Linked DNA regions of Homo sapiens: region 2 is linked to region 1. The links are contacts of gene promoters, found by promoter capture Hi-C in human tissues and cell types (Jung and others, 2019). All regions are on one chromosome and are shown on one strand. The core of a region is centred on a gene start or on the middle of the fragment in contact, and the rest is flanking DNA. Distances in the headings are between cores, read along the strand shown. Region 1 holds the start of BCL2L1 (BCL2 like 1). Region 2 overlaps TPX2 (TPX2 microtubule nucleation factor).

Region 1 (3,039 bases), core at 181-2,680:
TGACCAGGGTGAAAGATGCCTGATCTCTGAAGCACAGGGTCATTTGTATTTCCAAGGAGTTAACCTCTTGTGGTGAAATGAGGCCAGTCAGGTTTCCTCAACTATCAACGTCTCCAACAATCACCCAACACAACAGAAAGAGATACAGAAGAAGGGCTGTTGGGGATCTCTGACCAGAGGCCAAAGAAAAGGGACACACAAGGGGCTTGGTTCTTACCCAGCCGCCGTTCTCCTGGATCCAAGGCTCTAGGTGGTCATTCAGGTAAGTGGCCATCCAAGCTGCGATCCGACTCACCAATACCTGCATCTCCTTGTCTACGCTTTCCACGCACAGTGCCCCGCCGAAGGAGAAAAAGGCCACAATGCGACCCCAGTTTACCCCATCCCGGAAGAGTTCATTCACTACCTGTTCAAAGCTCTGATATGCTGTCCCTGGGGTGATGTGGAGCTGGGATGTCAGGTCACTGAATGCCCGCCGGTACCGCAGTTCAAACTCGTCGCCTGCCTCCCTCAGCGCTTGCTTTACTGCTGCCATGGGGATCACCTCCCGGGCATCCAAACTGCTGCTGTGGCCAGTGGCTCCATTCACCGCGGGGCTGTCTGCCAGGTGCCAGGATGGGTTGCCATTGATGGCACTGGGGGTCTCCATCTCCGATTCAGTCCCTTCTGGGGCCTCAGTCCTGTTCTCTTCCACATCACTAAACTGACTCCAGCTGTATCCTTTCTGGGAAAGCTTGTAGGAGAGAAAGTCAACCACCAGCTCCCGGTTGCTCTGAGACATTTTTATAATAGGGATGGGCTCAACCAGTCCATTGTCCAAAACACCTGCTCACTCACTGAGTCTCGTCTCTGGTTAGTGATTCTCTTCTAAGATCCAAAGCCAAGATAAGATTCTGAAGGGAGAGAAAGAGCTTCAGGAAAAAAAAATAATTAATATGCATGCCATTTACCCTAAAAATTCCATTCCCCCTCCAGGTACCAGAACTGGTTTCTTTGTGGGTCTTACGAAGGTCTGGGTCTAGGTTCCAAGATACTTCACTTAAGTCAAATCGAAAGCACCAGTGGACTCTGAATCTCCCACCAGCCTTTTCTACCCCCGTCTTCTCCGAAATGCCTTCCTCGGAAAGTCACTCCCTGGGCAGTCCCCCCCGCCCCACTCCCGCTCCCCCGCACCACCTACATTCAAATCCGCCTTAGGCAAAGGCAGGCAGGTGCAGCCCCCGGAAGATCTTTTGTATCACAGGTCGGGAGAGGAGGTGGCTGCGGGGATGCCGGTAACTCAGCCGGCCTCGCGGTGGCTGGCAAAAAAACCAGCTCCGGCCGGAGGGATCATGCGACCCGGCAGGCTGGGAGCCCAGAAGGCGACACAGGAATTGCGAAGCTCAGGAACCAGCCCCCTCGCTTGCTTCCTCCTCCATCGCCCGGATCGAGGGCGGCCGCTCCGCAGCCGCGGCCTCCTGCCACCCGGGAGCCCAGCCCCCTCTCTCTTGCACGCCCCTTGGCTCTCCGCCTCCTACTGGGAGCCAGGAGTACTCTCCCGGAGGTGGCTGGTATGGATTTAGTTGGTTTTTGTTTTTCTTTTTTCTATTTAAGCACCAGCCCAGGGTGAGGTGGAGGCGTCCGAAACCCTAAAGGGACTTCTCAATGGGGTTCAAGGTTTCAGTGAGGGACGCAGGGAGGGGGAAACTGCCTCAGATCTGCAATCTGACTTTGGGAAGGCCACCCCCAGGCCTGTCTGTGATGTTGAAGGCCGGAGACCCCCAACAAATGCCGCTGGTTTGCTCTGAATTCCCCAAAGGCCCAGAACGTGGCAGTTGGGGATTGCCGGGTCCTCCATTCCCCGCCCGGACACAATGGCCGCCGGCGCCCTGCACAAAGACTGGGTGAGGGTGAGGCGCTGGGCCTCTCCTCAGGTCAGGAAGAGGGGTCGAGGCCTGCTCGACGGCCCCACAGCTGAGACCACGTTTTCCTGGGGACAGGCCCAAAGTGGCTTTCTGGCGCCCCCGGGAGGGCTCCGGGGCCGGGGGCTGCACCTCTCCGGAGCCCAGGGTGGGCCGGCTGCGGCCTAGCGGCTTCTCGAGCTCACTAGGCCGGGTACCCGCCGAGCCACCGCCCCGTTGCTAGGCAACCGCCCTCCCCCGGGGGCGCCCCCTAGACCTTCCTGAGAGGAGGGGCCTCGCCCCCGGCGGTCCGCCCCAGCGCAGCCAATCAGCGAGCCCAGCCGGCACGGAAGCGGGACGGCGAAGGCTCCTATTGGGCGCAACGGCTGTCACGCACAGGGGAGGCGGCGCTCTCACCTGCGAGCCCCGCGAGCCGTGGGGGGCCACATCCCCCTTCATCGGCCCGGTAGCTTCCAGACGCAAGAGCTCTTCGCGGCCGAGTTCCGCGCCGCGGACCCGGGCCGGCCTACCTGGCTGCCGGCCTACCTGGCTGACTGCTCGCGCCGTCTCTCCCGAACAAGCCGGCCTCAGTTTCCCCTGAAGAGACAGGGGAACTTGCAAGCTCAGTCACTTCCGGTGCCGCGGCAACGCGCGCGAGCCCGAGACGCAAAGGGAGTGCGCGCCTTGAGTGACTGGCATCAGGACCGGGGAGAGATCGCCCCCTCGCGGTAGATCTGGGGAATCGGGAGGCGCAAAAAATCAACATTTATAATCACATTTCCATTTATTCATTCAGTCAGTCAGTCAGTCACTCATCAGTCAATCAGCCTATTTCATCCGTCCGTCAGTTTATATATAGAAGAAGCATCGCCTTGTGGTTAAGCACTTTGTCTGGATTCTAACTCTGCTAGTTAGGCAAGTTTCTCAACTGCTCTGTGCTTCAATGTCCTCAATTGTAAAATGGGTAATAGTACCAACCTCTCTCGTTGAGCTATTGTGATGATTAAGAGAGTTATTAATTGTAAACTCCATAGGACAGGCCGGGCGCGGTGGCTCACGCCCGTAATCCCAGCACTTTGGGAGGCCGAGGCGGGCGGATCACCTGAGGTTAGGAGTTCAAGACCAGCGTGGCCAATGTGGTGAAACCCCGTCTCTACTA
Region 2 (3,039 bases), core at 243-2,742, 36 kb after region 1:
TGCCCCCTCGGATTTCATCAATTTTTCATCCTTGGATGATGAAGGAGATACTCAAAACATAGATTCATGGTTTGGTAAGTGCCTGCTTTCTCTGGCTATTTTAAGGATTAGTGGCTTGCTTTGTGCTGAAGACCTTTCAATAATAGAAGGGGTTGCAAGAAAAGAACTAAAATATCAACTTCTTTCTGCACCAAGACATTCTGTCATCCATGATATTATGGGAATAATTGAAATGCCCAGTATTTGGGGAATGGATTGTAAGTACAAAGCATATGTTGTTTTGTAGTTCAGAATGGCAGATTTAAGCTTTAGGGACCTATGGGAAAGTTCAGATGAACCAGTGTTCAACAAAACTCCATGCTCAAATATGTCTGTAGTGATGGCAGCCACATAAAAACTTTGTCTACTATCATTAGGGATAGATTATATCACAGCTAGGATATTGACATTCATACAATCTACCAGTTTTACTCAGATTTCTCCAGTTTTACTTGTATGTGTATTAAGTTCTCTGTGGTTTTATCACCTGTGTTGGTTTATGTGTCTACCATCACAGTCAAGATCTTTTATAATTACCCTCACCTCCCTCCTGCCACCCCTCCCTCAATTCATTTTTTTTTTTTTTTTTTTTGAGGCTGTAGTCTCGCTCTGTTGCCCAGGCTGGAGTGCAGTGGTACAATCTCAGCTCACTGTAACCTCCGCCACTCTTGTTCAAGCGGTTCTGCCTCAGCCGCCCAAGTAGCTGGGATTACAGGCGCCCACCAGCATGCCTAACTAATTTTTGTATTTTTAGTAGAGACAGTGTTTTGCCATGTTGGCCAGGCTAGTCTTGAACCCCTGACCTCAGGTGATCCACCCACCTCAGCCTCCCAAAGTGCTGGGATTACAGGCGTGAGCCACTGCGCCTGGCCCTCAATTCATTTTTAAATGGAAGGATTATGCTACTAAGAACCCATTCCCAGAAACAGTATTGCTTGGCCAATGGTAAGTAAGAATGTGGTTACATTTTTACATTACTTTGAAATAATATCTGAGACTAGTTGTTGAGGCCCCTTTGATTCTTTCTCTCATGTCTCCATCCTCCTTATCGGGAGAAATCACTATGAATATGTGGTGGGGAACAGAAGTGAGTCCATTGCAGCTGTACTTATCCGTATAGTGCACTGTCCAAATGTGTTGACAGGTGCCATTTTTTGGAAAAGGACTTTAATGGCATCTAGTGGGGATCCTGAGAGGAGTCGTCTGTTGGAAGTGGTGTGGGAGGAAGGGTAAATAAATACAAGGGCCAGCTGTCCTGCGGGGATCTTCCCCATGCCCTTGCTTCACTGGAACTGTAAGGAAATGGCTGGGCTGTCTGAGGATTTCTTTTTCTAAGCTTTTCTTTAAAATAAAAAAGAAAAGAAAAGATTAGCCTAAGAATACTGTTAAATACAATTTGGAAGAAAAAAAATGACCCCACTATTTTTCCAAAACTACCTTAGTTTTAAAACATTTTTATTTTTTTTTCTTTTTGTTTTTGCCAGAGTTCTTTTGGCTAACAAAACTACCTCAGTTTTAATATATTACTTTCCAATTTCTTTCCCAAATAAATAGTCACATCTTTCTACACAGTTGCAATCAGAATGTACATGCACAGGGTAGTTATTGCTGTGTCTCACTGCATTCCTGAAACTATCAGTAGGCTGTTGGTAGAACAGACCCTTCACTGCTTTGTACTGACTTCTGGGCACAGTAGAATCTAAGATAAAATTTCTTGAGAGAACCTAGCTCTGCTCTACCCTCACACACCCCTTATTCCTCCCACCACCCCACTGAGGAGGAAACTCTGTAAGACTATACAGTATCTCTTGTAAGCCCTACAGTTTTTGATGGTTACAGTTTTCTTTCGTTTTTTTTTTTTTTTTTTTTTTGAGATGGAGTCTTGCTCTGTCGCCAGGCTGTAGTGCAGTGGTGCGGTCTCAGCTTACTGCAAATTCCACCTTCCAGGTTCAAGCGATTCCCCTGCCTCAGCTTCTCAAGTAGCTGGGATTAAAGGCATGTGCCACCACGCCTGGCTAATTTTTTGTATTTTAGTAGAGACGGGGTTTCACCATGTTGGCCAAGACAGTCTCGATCTCCTGACCTCATGACCCACCCGCCTCGGCCTCCCAAAGTGCTGGGATTACAGGTGTGAGCCATCGCTCCCGGCTGGTTACAGTTTTCTTTAAGAGGAACATGATATATTTAGGGAGTAGATAAAGCCAGTTCATATTTGTATGACCCTAAATGTGTACCAAACAAAGATAAGGAGTTATTCACAATGCAGAATCTGTACTTTTCCTTTTTTATAATACATTGTTCAATGTTGCCAGTTTTTAGTGATTGTTCTTATAGTCTATCTCGGATGTGTAATGTGTACTTTTTCTTTTGATTGCTAGAACTTTGCTTGTACTTGCCACATGAGTTGGAAGTGTACTGGTAGGGAGCTTTAGTTTGCATTTTAAATGCGTGATAGTGATTTGTTTTGCTTCCTTGCTGATCAGACAATGATGATCTTCCCTTTTCACAGAGGAGAAGGCCAATTTGGAGAATAAGTTACTGGGGAAGAATGGAACTGGAGGGCTTTTTCAGGGCAAAACTCCTTTGAGAAAGGCTAATCTTCAGCAAGCTATTGTCACACCTTTGAAACCAGGTAAGAAAACATCTTAGAAAAAAGCTCCTTGATAGAATGGTGGGACAGTGTTTTAGAAGCCTGAGGTTCTGGGAAAATTACCTAAATGCTCTATCTCTTTGTTTATTATTGGTGAAATGGGCTAATTCATTTCATGATAAATGTAAAACTAATGATGTGCTACACTTAAAAAAAAATCTCTTGGAGCTTAAGCTAACATAGAATTTTTTTTTTTTTTTCTTTAAGATGGGGTCTGGTTCTGTCACCCAGGCTGGTGGAGTACAGTGGCACAGTCATAGCTCACTGCAGCCTCAAACTCCTGAGCTCTTAGTAACTGGGACTACAGGTGCTCAACACCATGCCTGACTGATTTTTAAAAAATTTTAGTA

Evidence for each region. The method cuts DNA at HindIII sites, captures the fragments that hold promoters and counts their contacts. A contact is called where the count stands out against the background at its distance.
Region 2: a contact is called between a fragment that was not itself captured here and the fragment with the promoter of BCL2L1 in region 1, in 1 of the 25 tissues and cell types used here (mesenchymal stem cells).

Annotation. Positions count from the first base shown.
Region 1 is chr20:31,721,438-31,724,476 of GRCh38, forward strand. BCL2L1 (BCL2 like 1) reads right to left here and starts at 1,431. Exons shown (of 3, transcript NM_138578.3): 1 at 1,181-1,431; 2 at 218-911. The coding sequence starts at 781. RefSeq lists enhancers at 1,050-1,805, 1,740-1,799, 1,806-2,560, 2,330-2,529 and silencers at 1,170-1,289, 1,340-1,449, 1,349-1,643, 1,850-2,299. The HindIII fragment of the contact is 4,180 bases long and covers 1-3,039 here.
Region 2 is chr20:31,757,509-31,760,547 of GRCh38, forward strand. It overlaps TPX2 (TPX2 microtubule nucleation factor), which reads left to right. Exons shown (of 18, transcript NM_012112.5): 3 at 1-74; 4 at 2,549-2,671. Among named protein-coding and RNA genes, the nearest start is that of TPX2, 20 kb to the left of the region's middle. The HindIII fragment of the contact is 7,137 bases long and covers 1-3,039 here.